Linked DNA regions of Homo sapiens: all the other regions are linked to region 2. Evidence: promoter capture Hi-C in 16 types of primary human blood cells and fetal thymus (Javierre and others, 2016). All regions are on one chromosome and are shown on one strand. Each heading gives the region's core, a stretch centred on a gene start or on the middle of the fragment in contact. The rest is flanking DNA. Distances are from core to core; before and after follow the strand shown. Region 1 holds the start of PHF14 (PHD finger protein 14). Region 2 holds the start of ANKMY2 (ankyrin repeat and MYND domain containing 2). Region 3 overlaps KLHL7 (kelch like family member 7).

Region 1 (4,707 bases), core at 505-3,004, 5.7 Mb after region 2:
ATTGAAACTGTATATATACATAAGGTACACTGAACAGAAAATACAAAGGAAAATCATACTTTTCTGTTTTCCAGTTTAGTACAATGTGAATATACGACCTTTAAAAAAAGTTTTTAAAATTACTAAATATAGTGAGCAAGCATGCATGACTTATACTTCAGAGACATCTGAAAGGCCCAATCCACAAGGTCCAGCACCTACTATAATTTGAAGTGCAACTCTTACTCTGGTCAATTTTATTCTAGTAAAAGAGCTAATACACAAAAAAAGCAAAACTCCCCTAAGAGATTGTCAAGTGATCTGAAAAAAGAAGAACCCTGCTCAGGGACTATTAATGGTCCACACACCTCTCAGGATACTTTTCTACTTCGGGATATCTTTCAGTTTTTTCCTCTATAATATAAGCATAAATATATTTTAAGGTGTAAAACAGAGAAATCCTTTTGCATCTTTGGAAAAAGTCCTTCCCCTGACTGCTAATTATCTCTGAGGAAAACAGAAGCAATTATAGGTCTAGTGACAGGATCTAAAGGCAAAATGGGAAATCAAATGGACAAAATAAATGAAGTTTACGTGCTTTCACTTAAAATTGGCATTTTAATCAAAACCGATTTAAAAAGTCTAAAAATAAGCCTAACTCCAGAAAGCTGGGAAAGGGGAAGAGAGAAGGAAATATTTACCTGAGGCATCTCCAACTTTAAAATCACTGTCATCTGAACTATCATAATCAAGAGCTTCCAGCAGAGAAGCTGCCAAAGGCTTCACCTGCCTCCTCTTGGAGCTGCGATCCACTGTGAAGAGAAAAAAATTACATTGTCATTCATAATCACACCAAACACAGGGGAGAGTTGTGGTGCTAAGAGAACATAAAGATGACCTCGCACAAGGAATTTTTGTCTAACTGAGTTCTCAGCAAAAGGGGTCAGGAGAAGGTTGGGGTGCAGAAGCAGGGTGGGGAGGGCTGGACAGCTCCACGGGCAGTTTCAAAGGCAGCTCCAGCCCTGATGCTGCCAACGCCAACTCAGACCAGCTAAAATCGAAGCTGACCCTCTTGCTCATCTTTTCGAGATGTTTCTGCACCTTCCTCGTAATCCCCCACTTAGACATCGTAACAGTCAATAAAAACGGCAAAAATCAGGGAATAAAACAAGCGGGCTTCATTCCCGCGGACCATGGAGGGCGAGGGTCCACCAATCCTGCTTTCCCGCAGGACTCTCCCACCCCTGCCCTGCTCCCACCGGCCCTGACTTCTAGAATGGCTGAAATGGACCTCTCGCCGCAGAGGCCTCGGATACACTTACTAAGGAATCCGTGAGGTGGTCGTTTGGAGAAGACTTAGGGAGAGGCTGCAGGAGCCCAGGCAGCGCCGAGGTCGGGGACTGGGGCCGCGAAGACAAGTCCGAAAGATGCTATTTAAAACCGGCGCGCAGCCAGCCGGACAGGGGCGCTCCCAAGAGTAGCCCCGCGGTCCCCTAACCCCCCGCCCCCCCGGCCTCGCCTGGCCCTGGCCGCTCGAGCCCCTTCCCACAGCGCTCCCTGGCCGGAGAAGACCTCCGGCCCAGGCAGCGCAGTCAACCCGGCGGCCCCGGGGAGTTAATTTCTCCCGTTAAAACTAGAAGAAAAAAAATTAAAGAAAGAAAAACTTTATTAGCCTGGACCAGAAGCAACGAAAGACCAGAAATTGCACAGCGCGAGGGCGGCTGCCTCAGACAATAGGGAAAGCAGCGACCCGGATACAGCTCTGAAAAGGAAGTGAAAACACGAGGCTGAGCGCAGCCCTGAGAGCAGCAGGAATTGAGGGCGCATGCGCAGGACTCGCCCCCGCGCACCCTTCCCGAGCAGGAGCCGAACAGAGCCGAGTGAAAGCCCAGGGAGCCGCGCGGAGGCGAGCGGAGCCGAGTAGTGCCAAGGCGGAGCAGAGATCCCCGCCAAACCCTGTGCAATTCCGCCCATAAACCCCAAAGGCTCCGCCCTCTCCGCGCCTAATTCACCTCCTGAGTCCAAATCCCTGGGAGGCCAGTTTTTGTTTCTGATCTGTTTTTTAAGGATTTACTGAGTAAACGTTCCACAAAGGGATGTTTGCTACCTTAAGCCACTACCAATATTTAAATGATATTGTCACCGGTAGAGGATCGTGACTGCAAGTTGTCCAGGTTCTTGGCGTTTTTAACAAAGAATTGGACAAAACGCCCAGCAAAGCAAAGAAAGAATGAAGCAACAAAACAACAAAAGCAGGGACTTATTGAAAATTAAAGCACGCTCTGTACGGAAGCGACCTGAGCAGCGGCTCAAGGGCCCGGATACAGAATCTTGAGTCCAAATACCCTCTAGAAGCTTCCTATTGGCCACCTAATGCTCACCTCATGTAAATGAAGTAACGCGCAATCAGTCTGATTGGTTGCAGAAAGCAGCCAACCAGAGGCTGAAGTGAAGTTACAAAGGTCATGCTCCTGTGCAAACATTGGTGCAAAAAGCAATCAATCAGAGGCTAGGGTGAAGTTACAAAGTGGTATACCTCTATGCAAAGGAAGATTTCCCCTGCAATCAGTTTGATTTCTTGCAGATGGTGAAGTTACAAAGTGATACTTCTATGCAAAGGAAGACTCTCCTGCAATCAGTCTGATTTGCTGCCCACAGCCAATTTCCCATCTGCCCTGCAGAAAAAGTGGGGGTTTGCAAAGGGAGTAGCCTCTGGTCCTTTTGTTACTTAGGCATGGAAAGTTAGGGGTTTCCTTTCAATTTAGTTCTTAGGAAGTCGGAGTGACACATCCTTAGGTTCCCTGCCTCCACACCCTATTCTCCTGCCTCACTCTCACCCAAACTATCATTGCCATGTGACCTCTCAAACTTTTCTATTGTGCTATAGAAACTTCTATTCCAAAATGTATAACCTACTTAGTAAACATTTTTCCTTTTCAATGCCCATTCTTTTTACCTCCTCATCTGAAATAGAAACAGTTACCCTGCAGCCCTCTCAAATGAAAACCACTCATCCTTCCATACTTCATTTTCTCAAGGTGCAGAAGTGGCATCCCATGCTTAATACTCCTCATTGCCTTTCAGATATTTATTCTTCCAGTTAAAATCCTAGGAACTTGGTTATTTTAAAAACTCCACTCTGGGAATTTCACTTCCATTCTACTTTAAACACCAACCATATCATGGACTGATAGTCTTATCTATGAAATTATAAATCCAAATATTCCACTGTTTGACAATAGCCTTTTAGATTTATTTGGAGCAATTATGCTGAATCATCTAAAAGAGAAATTCAAAATCTGGCATTCGTGTTTATGTAAAACTAATTTCTAGAAGGAGATTTTCAGAATCAAAATGTATTAATTCATTTACTTTAATAAATAACACCTAGTTGCTCTAGAAAAACTGTACTGCCGGGTGCGGTGGCTCACGCCTGTAATCCCAACACTTTGGGAGGCTGAGGCGGGTGGATCACTTGAGGTTGGGAGTTCGAGACCAGCCTGCCCAACATGATGAAACCCCGTGTCTACTAAAAATACAAAAATTAGCTGGGCGTGGTGGCACATACCTGTAATTCCAGCTACTTGGGAGGCTGAGGCAGGAGAATCACTTGAACCTGGGAGGCAGAGGTTGCAGTGAGCAGAGATCACGCCACTGCATTCCAGCCTGGGTGACAAGAGTGAAACTCCGTCTCAAAAAAAAAAAAAAAAAAGTCTGTACTAATATATATACCACCAAGAGTGGATAAGAATTCTTTCTAGTTTTCCAAACCTGTGGCCATTGGATATCAGCAATCATTTTTTTTTAACTTTTAATTTTGAAGTAATTTCAGATTTACCAAAAAGTGCAATAATAATACTGAGTTTTTGTACATCCTTCACCTAGCTACCACTAATATCAGTATCTTATATAACCATAATACATTTATCAAAACTAAGAAACTAACATGAGTACAGTTTTGTTGACTAAACACTTTATTTATATTTCACTAATTTTCCTACTAATGTCCTTTTTTCTGTTCCAAGATCCAATCCAGAAGACAATATTGCATTTAGGTTATTAATCTTTTGCAATTCATGTATTGAAAGAAAGTAAGAGAAGGAAAGAAGGAGAAAAGGAGGGAAGGAAGAGAGGGAGGGAAAAAGGAAGAAGAAAAGTAGGGTAAAAAGAAAAGAAAAAAATTACCTAATTCCTTTTTTTGACCTGCATTCAATAAACATGGAAAGAACTGCTGGTTGTTTCCCAATACCCATTATCTCCTTTTTCTTCAAAAATGGAAGCTCCAAATTTTAACTGGGCATAAGTTTTCAAAGAATAAAGACATAATATACCAACTTTCTTGATGTTGCTTGGAGTTATGCAGTTAAGTTCTGGCCAATTGCATGTCAGCAGAAACAGTACGTGCAACTTCCAGGAAATGATATTAAATGAAGGGGCTTGAACTTTTCCCTCCCTTTTGTGAATGCTTGTTATTGCTTTTTCTTGCCTAATTGCTCTGCCTAGAACCTGCAGAACATTGTTGAATAAATGTGGTGAGGGAAAGACTTCTTTGTCTTGTTTCTGACTTTAGGAAGAAAACTTTCAGTCTTCCACTTAGTCTTATGTTATCTATAGTTTTTCAAAGATGCCCTTTTTCAGGTGGAGGAACTTTCCTGTTCCTAGTTTGCCAACTGTTTTTATCATGAAAGAGCTTCGAATTTTATTAAATACTCTTTCTCTGTCTATTGA
Region 2 (4,670 bases), core at 1,194-3,693:
TATCTAATCTTATCCCTACATTAAATATTTACACCATACAAAACTACTAATGTAATCAATCCATCTAATGAACAGTACCCATTATGAATCTGTTTCTAGAAATGTAAACTGAACATGATTTATTTGCATTTCTAGGTAGATGTTAGATTCTCTTTCAACGTTATTGTCTCTAAATTCACTGGTCATGTATTCAGAGAGCACTAAATACCAACCAAGTGTCATAAGGCATCAAGAAAATAGATAGTAAGCTGCTATCCTCGAGGAACTGACAACCCCAGTGAGACAAACAGGTGTGACCTTCAAGTAACCATGGCCCAGATTTGGCACAAGAGATGGAAATACTAGCAATGAAGTACCCAATTATGTGTATGCATCTGCTGGTAAGATGCTAAATCACATGTTCCAGGAGGTTACCACTCAACTGTTTTTTTAGGTTTGTGGGTTTCTTCCGCATGATACTATGTTATAAATCAATTGTAACTCTGAACTAACAGCATTACAAAAGATTGGTCACTCTCAGGAGCCTTACTACTTGCTTGAACAGCCACATCATTATTAAAGCATCATCCAACAAAAGTATCTTTGTTATACACTGAGATGAATAATTTCAAACCATTTTCATGTAAGATGTTCTGGCTCAGATCTGTCCCAGTCTTTAATGCTGAAGCTTTAGGGGGGAAAAACAGCTGGAGTTTAGGAAAGATTTTTGCTAAAGGCAGGAAATAATGATAAACATATTCCAGGAGATTTCAGATGTTAGTGAAAGCTTCACGCAAAATAAATGCCTAAGGCCAGAGGAAAATGCATTTCGCTTTTCGTATGGCGCTATGAGAAGAAACAGTGGTCCTGGGGATGCTTAACAAAAACCACCTACATAATTACTCAAATATTTCTCTTTGACACATACACGTCTCTTTGACACACATATTGAGAGAAACATCAATACTACTCTGTAGGGAAACAACAGTAAAACATAAACACTAATTTCCAAAGAAACTTTCATTGATGATGTAAATATAAATCTGCACCCTGGAGAAATGACTGATTCCCGCATTTTAGCAAGCAAATCTTATTCTGAAATACACACTTGTATTTACCCCCATCTACCTATGGTCGAAGCTCCAGGCTACATATTACAGTTGAATGAAGGTTGGATTAAGAGGCTAATCTAAGGCTATATATAGGCAGCAACACCAATTTAATCTCCGCCCTCTCCAACCTCCCCACCCTCCACTCCCTATTTCCATAAATCTCAAGATCTGAGTTACAAAGAGAACCGAGAACTCTAGCAGAGCAAAGAAGCCCTTCCTTCCCCCTCCCACAGGCTGTCTCTCATAAACGAAGTATTAGTGCAAGTGTAAATTGTTTCCAAACATCTTTAACAAGCAACATTGGGCGATCAGGTTTTCTTCTACAGCTTCCACAGAGGCCAAAGAGATGACAAGTAGTGGGGAGGGCGAGGATCACCAGCGTAAAAACTACCTTCTCCCGAGTCTGTTCTCACTGACTCGCTAGTAATGGGGCGCTGTCCTTGCGACCCCTACCTAGCCCAGAGCCCCGGCCCCAGCCTCCCCGGGAGCCGCATCTGGCGGTGCCACGCACGAGACCATGTGCACCCGCCACTTCCCACCGCGTGGCTGGCCCCCGCCCGCCCGCCCGCGGTCCCAGGGTCTCCCGAGGCGGCCAAACGTTGCGAGTCGGAGGTCTTCATCCCAGGGCACTGATACCCCGTACGCGCCGTGATGATGAGGTGGAGCGGGGGCTTCTCCACCGCGAGGCAGGAAGCCGCCCCAGGAGGCACATGCTTCCTCCCCGCCAGCTCCTGCCCGATGGAAACCCCGGCGGGGCGGCAGTCGCTACTCTCGCAACCCTCACGGCGCCCCTTGCCTCACCTGGGCTGCTTCTCACCTGTCCGAGGAGGTAGCGACGACGCGCAAGGCTGGGGGCTGCGGCGATTCGTGCAGCAGCAGCGGCAGCAGCAGCAGCAGCAGCAGTGGCGGCAGACAATGGAGGAGTGAAGGACAGACACATTGACATAGACACACGGAACCCGGCGCAGCCCCGCCTCCCGTACCGCCCCCGTCTCCTAGACCGCCCCCGCCCAGACTGCGCCACTCCCGGGGGAATGGTGGGGGTACGGCGACAACCTGGGGCCTCTGCATGCCCCAGAAAGCCGTCGCTGAGCACATAACTGCCAGCTGTAGAATTTTCAATATTACATGTGGCGAAATATTTGAACCGGACAGGATAGGGGAGCGGAACGTGTAGGAGGAATTTAATTCCCCCCTCCAGCTTTCTGCATTTGGTTTTGTCCTCCCAGGTTGCTCCAATGGCGATCTCTCGCTACCGCCTCCTGCGGCTCCTCCTCCTCGGCAGGGCCAATGACAGGCGGCAGGCGGTGACCGCCGCAGGGCCTGCGGAGACCGTCCGCCTGGCTCGCCCGAGCTCGCCCGCTGTCCGCCAGCCCGCGGGAGGGAGGAGAGAAGCGAAGCGTTTCCGCGGTTGGCTACTCAGTGTCTTGGTCTCAAGTTGCCTCATTGCGGCTGGCGTTCCCAATACAGACGCATCGTTTCTTTTTTAATACTCCCTAAGAAAGGGAATAACCTTCAAGCTGGCGGGAGCAATGGTTCACATAAAGAAAGGCGAGCTGACCCAGGAGGAGAAGGAGCTACTGGAAGTCATCGGGAAAGGTACGGGTGCTGGGCTGCGACGCGGCCGCGGCCAGCCTGGCCGGGGGGCGTGGCGGAGCCCGGGGGGCGCTCCTGGCCTGGGTGACCTTTGGCTGCGGTTCTGCAAGGTTTGCAGCCTGGAACCGGGAAAGAGCGTTTCTCCCTTTGGTCTGGGAAAGGTTGCAGGGGCGGAGAGGTGGGGAGGCAGAAGCAGTGCTGGGACAAGAGGGGTAGTTACAGAGGCTCGGCCTCTAAATCCGCTTTTGGAAACGTACGGATTTCCACGCCCCGCCTTAGGTTAATGCGAGCTTCCCGGGGTGTGGACCCCAGTGTGTGAATTCTTCACTGCTCCCGAGGGATTTTGACCGCGGTCAGTCCTGGTAGTTTCAGGTTCTTAGGCGGGTGTCTAAATGACCCTTTAGACTTCCGCAGGCCGAATGATCTGGATCCTTTGCCGATCCCCGCCCCCGCTTGGGAGTGGAGGGCGCCCTTAGGGAGAGGGGTTCTTCATAAGGGTACAGAACTAGGTCTGTAATTTGCTGCATTGAGACTTCCGTATCCAGGGCCTCCCTGGCTTCCAGAAGCCCCGACAGCCTCAGGAACCCTAGAGAGACAAGGAAATTGGCGAGGCCTCCACACCCACCCCTCGGCCCACGTTGCACAGATGAGACCTTCTAATCGCGCTCCTTCGCGCTTTCTTGTCCACTCCCCCAAGGCGTGCCCCACTTCCGCAGTGCTGAGTCCCAGCGGGGAGCCCCGAGGACGAGCCAGAAGCCATATTTCCCCGGAGTCCCCGAGTGGACGTCCCAGAGGAGTTCCCTGCCGAGTCCCGTTACCTGGCAGGTGACATCAGCGTGACTGCATGCTTCTTCTGCACCCTCACGGTGCAGGGATGGTGATGCGTGCGACTCCGGGCAATTAATGTGGTGATTTTAAACTCAATAATAATATAGCCATGTTTGTCCTCGAATGGCAGAGATGCCAGTCATTGCAGCATAAGGCTTCCCAGTTTCCAGTTTTATTTACTTAGTAGCCAGGCTGAAATGTGGAATCCTAGAGAATAAGGCAGATTTATTCTTCATAGCGACAAGGAAACTCCACATGCGAAGGAGAAAAAATTCCGGTTTGAACTCAACAGGTGCTGATGAGCTGAGCCCACCCGATCTGATCTCAACTATTCTAAGTCAGTCACAGCTATATCTATCAATGATGTGTTCTTTGCCTGGAATTTGGGGATTTGGGTTAGAGTTTAGATTGTTGTACTGCATGGTTCTTGCTGACCTATTTGGCATTTCAGTCTTTCAGTTCTTCCTGTCTCTAGGTAATTTCTCCCTGCCTTTGATGGCTCTGGGATTCAATTAAGCAAACATGCAAGTTCTAGCTGTGTGCCAGGTACTGTGCTGGGCAAAAAGGAGACAAAGGATCAATTCACAATCCACCAGGGACAAAAATTCTTTTAGGCAGGACAGAGCTAGTACATGTCCTCTCTCTCTCTCGCTCTCGCTGTCTCTTTCTCTCTCTCTCTCGTTTGTTTGAGACAGGATCTCACTCTTCACCCAGGCTGGAGTTGCAGCTCTCTGCAGCCTCCACCTCCCTAGTGGCTGGGACTACAGGTGCGAGCCACCATGCCCGGCTACTTTAGAAAGATTTTTTTTTTTTTTTTGTAGAGATGGGGTGGTGGGGGTCTCCCTATGTTGCCCAGGCTGCTCTCGAACTCCTGGGCTCAAGTGATCCTCCTGCCTCGGCCTCCCTAAGTGCTGGGATTACAGGCATGAGCCACTGGGCCTGGCCCATCATGTGATCTCTTAAAAGTGAAAAATAGTGAGCAGTTTTATAAATTGAGTCTTTGAGAGGGGAGAAGGGATTCCTTGGATACATTCTCAGGTGTCCATCAGTATTTATTTTGAAGATTATATAAACCTGAATTAATGTGCATTTATTCTGGTTAGTGCTGTGATATTTCTGGGCTCACACGGTGCATCAAGTTGCATGAGTGCACTG
Region 3 (4,088 bases), core at 1,387-3,886, 6.5 Mb before region 2:
GTTCTCACTCATAGGTGGGACTTGAACAATGAGAACACACGGACACAGGAAGGGGAACATCACACTTTGGGGACTGTTGTGGGGTGGGGGGAGGGGGGAGGGATAGCATTAGGAGATATACCTAATACTAAATGACGAGTTAATGGGTGCAGCACACCAATATGGCACATGTATACATATGTAACAAACCTGCACATTGTGCACATGTACCCTAAAACTTAAAGTATAATAATAATAAAATTAAAAAAAAAACAAAAGAAAATGTAGTGAATTTACTCAGCTTTTCATCTTAATGGGGGGAGAGAAGTATTTAGAGGGGTATGTTGAGATTAAGAATGGGTTTGCTGGTTGTTTGGTTCAAAAGCTGGAGAGGTTAAAACAAGCTTAAGTGCTAATAGCAAGAATCCAGCAAAGAAGAAAAGTTAAAGATGCTCAACAAAGATGGAATAACCAACAGTATAATACTTCTGAGAAGCCCAGCATCCAGGAAGCCAAAGCCTAGGTAGAAGTACTGGCCTTAGAAAAAGCAGCAGCATCTCCATTGTAGCAGGATAAGAAGAGAAAAGGGAAAGTGTCAAAATAGGTTTATAGATCTGGTGGTAGAAAGTGAAAAGGTAGACAGTTCTAGACTAATGACTTCTATTTATCTATGGTGTCAAAAGAAGGTGATCTGCTGAAAGTGAGGATCTAGAGAAAGGACTCAGATTGGAGGAAAATAGTAAAACAAAAAGATTGCTCACGGGCACTGATAGTCTAGTGGAAATTAGTGGCCAAGCACTTACTTGGCAGAAGTTGCCCAGTGAGATATTTTCCAGCTGTGCTTGGAGCCTTGCACAAAGAAGGTAATCAGTCATCAATACTCAAGTTTGCCAGATGGACATGAAAAAGGGACAGAGGGTCAAGAAAACTGGGACACTGGAGAGACAGTGGAGTGACAATAGCTTCTAAGCTGGACAGACAGAAAAAGAAAACAGAAAACAGTAAAGTACAGGAAAAAGAATAAGAAGGTCTGGATGACTGGAATTGTCAATGAAAGTTAAGAGAATTAAATGAGACAAAGCATGTAAAACACTCTGCAGAGTGGCTGGAACAGTTATAAGTGCTCAAGAAGTCTTATTAATATCAAGGGTTTAACACTGAAGGTTTAGATTATTCACAAGAGAACCTAAAGATAATGACATGTAGTAATTTACAGTCAGACAGATGAGAATACAGAAGCAAAGTCATTTTAGCCGGAAGGTGAGCCCAGTTAACTGCCCAGTATCTAATTGTGAAATCAGCTTTGTAGTTCTCTCACATAACTCTCAATAAGGACTTTAACATAAGCTTTCAAGTTCCAGTTATGCTTTAATTCATTTAATGTGGAGAAACTATAAACTATGGTGGTACTCAGGAAGGTCTTAAAACATCTTCCTCCAATGTTAAGAGACTCCTGGACTTCATTAACACAAAAGAAGAGTATGGCAACAGCAATGTGCATGTGCAATAGTGACTGTGACCCAGACCTGCCTTGTAAAGCCTCTATTTTACATATCAGGTAATAACATTAATCTAAGCAAAAAGTTAAAGAAATAAATGAAAAGGTACTCAATCCAATTAAATAAGATGCTCCTATACACCCAGTTAGAATGGCTAAAGTGATAAGACTGACAACATCAAGTGATGGCAGGGATGCGGAGCAAAAACCTCTCTCACACACAACTGGCAGAAGCGTAACATGGTACAATCACTTTGGAAAACTACACGACGATATCTTTTAAAGCTGAAGGTGGTATAGCTTATGACTCAAAAATTCCTGTTTGGTATTTCCCAACACAAATATTAATACATACATATGCATACCAAAAGGCATGTACAAAGTGTACAAAAATGTTCAAAGTAGTACTAGTCTTAATAGTTCCAAACTAGAAATAACCCAAATGTTCATAATGATAGAATGGATAAATTGTGCTATATTCATTCAATGGGATACTATATACCACAAGGATGAAGTAGCGCTACACACAGCACAGATGAATCTCACAAACAATGTTGGCTTTAAGAAAACAAAACACAAGAGTTTATGCCATATGATTACATTTATATAAGTTCAAACACAGGAAAAACCCACTTTTTGCCGATGTGCTGCAGACTTTCATGAATGCACCACACACCAAAGACAGAACAAAGAGCTCCTCTTAATAACAGGGGTGCATAGTGCCCTTAGAAGATGGCATGGCATGGTATTTATCAATGGTTGCTTCTGCTCTAACTTCGATGGTTACAGAGTTAGAATAGTTGTTACTACTGTGGGGTTGGTGACTGAGAAGGGCATAAGGGGGGACCTCTGGTGTACTGGTCATGTTCTCGTCTTGTTGGTGGGATGTGCACTTTGTAATAATTGAGCTATACATTTATGATTTGTGCCCTCTTATATGTATCCCATACTTCACTGGAGAGTTTACTTAGAAACAAAAGGCTAGAAATGACAAAAACAATGTAGGAAAAGGCTTTAGAAGAAGCCGAGGCTGCTGGCTCTGCAGAATCCCCTTTTGCCTCTATGTATAGAATCGGCCACTATACTACAGAGAGATGGAATGACCCAAATCATGTTATCTAAAATAACAAAATGAAATAATGAGAGAGCAGGATTGGAACTGAGGTATGCTAATCTCACAATGTTCTCAAATTCTTGAAGGAATGTTTCTGGATGTTTACAGAGGGGTCCTTGTCATCTAGGCACTCATTATCCTGATCCTTAAAGCAATGAGATTGTAAAGGGATGTAAAAGTAGTCATAACACAAAAATATTTACTAAAGAACAAGAGCACTTATAAAGTTGGTCCTCACTCAAACATTCCTACTCTGGCTCAGACCAGCCACTGTTTCTGCCAATTCCCATCAACTGCCCTTGTCAGTCATTCTCGGTCAATTGTTTCCTGTGTTATGATGTTAAACAGGACAATACAATATAACCATAATGTAAATCAATTGCGAAGTGAAACTGCACATCTTGCAAAAGATGCATGATTCCATGAAGTTGATAAAAGTGCTATTGGAGAACTGTTTGAATCACATGCCAAACCACTGACAACAGGAGAACCTGGCAGATTAAGGTCAGTTAATCATTGTGGAGGGGACCCCTGGTTGTTCACCAGGTAACCATTTTTTCCTTCCTACTCAGTAACAGAACCCTGATTTTTCAGTAATTGTACTTCTATTGTAACGGTAAATAAGTGATGTTAATATACTCCAAAGCTAAGAAATGTGAGTCACTTTTTAAATCCAAAGAGCTAAACGGACAGTCTCAGATAATCCTCTGCTCCTCAAGTAAATATTTGCTGCTGCAATCCAGTTTCACCCTATTTAGGGATTAAGGCAATGCTTTACAATGCTATGATCCACGAATGAAAACATATATTCGAGGGAGTGGGAGGGAACCTAATGAGTCTTCAACGAGTTTAAGCCCTGGTTAACTATGTTCAACTACCATTACAGGCAGGCAATAGCTAAATGCACCAGCAATTTGAAGTCTGTGGTATTGTAGATACAAAAAGGTTTACATGAAAGGAACATGAATTTGAAAATAGATACATGAAAGTCAGTTACATAAATTAACGAATTCAGGCATTCACAGTACTTCAGCACAAAGGCCAGGCCAGGAAAGATTTAAAAGCATTCCCACAGACTGCACTGGTGCACTGTAGCAGGAGCTGGTGAACAAAGACAAAATCCCAGCAGTCAGCGTTTGCTTATAGAAACCAGAAGTTAATATCTTCATAAAAATCTTAAATTCCTCTACTGTTGCCCATATTCCCAGCAGAACCACCAGACAAAGCAAACTAGGTTTTGCAGTTACACATAACTCACATCCTGCTTTGTCCCCTTGAAACAGGATCCCAGTCAACAAAACCCAAACATTCCCACAAATCTACTTAGATGTGTATTATCTATAAATAAAGCTTACAGAAAGGAAAAAGTGACTTTCTATGCTTATCGGTGTAGATGTTATGGAATTAAAAAAAAAAAAAGCCTCTTTGTTTCACCTTCGCCAGCGTTAAAATCCGTTCTTTTCATAACCCACCTTTCGCCGATGTGCTGCAGAATTT

The links. The method cuts DNA at HindIII sites, captures the fragments that hold promoters and counts their contacts. A CHiCAGO score of 5 or more calls a contact.
Region 1: the fragment with the promoter of PHF14 here is called in contact with the fragment with the promoter of ANKMY2 in region 2 in 4 of 17 cell types (naive CD8 T cells, total CD4 T cells, non-activated CD4 T cells and 1 more); the score reaches 8.9 in naive CD8 T cells.
Region 3: a fragment that was not itself captured here is called in contact with the fragment with the promoter of ANKMY2 in region 2 in 1 of 17 cell types (non-activated CD4 T cells); the score reaches 5.6 in non-activated CD4 T cells.

The regions. Positions count from the first base shown.
Region 1 is chr7:10,970,919-10,975,625 of GRCh38, reverse strand. PHF14 (PHD finger protein 14) reads right to left here and starts at 1,754. Exons shown (of 18, transcript NM_001007157.2): 1 at 1,302-1,754; 2 at 681-791. The coding sequence starts at 1,302. RefSeq lists silencers at 910-959, 1,940-1,999, 2,510-2,559 and an enhancer at 1,690-1,984. The HindIII fragment of the contact is 4,357 bases long and covers 1-2,336 here.
Region 2 is chr7:16,643,527-16,648,196 of GRCh38, reverse strand. It overlaps ANKMY2 (ankyrin repeat and MYND domain containing 2), which reads left to right and starts at 2,443. Exons shown (of 10, transcript NM_020319.3): 1 at 2,443-2,690. The coding sequence starts at 2,624. BZW2 (basic leucine zipper and W2 domains 2) reads right to left here and starts at 2,016. Exons shown (of 12, transcript NM_014038.3): 1 at 1,909-2,016. RefSeq lists an enhancer at 2,037-2,316. The HindIII fragment of the contact is 5,140 bases long and covers 769-4,670 here.
Region 3 is chr7:23,106,770-23,110,857 of GRCh38, reverse strand. The region is part of intron 1 of KLHL7 (kelch like family member 7); the gene reads right to left. Among named protein-coding and RNA genes, the nearest start is that of KLHL7, 3.0 kb to the right of the region's middle. RefSeq lists an enhancer at 3,912-4,088. The HindIII fragment of the contact is 2,615 bases long and covers 1,329-3,943 here.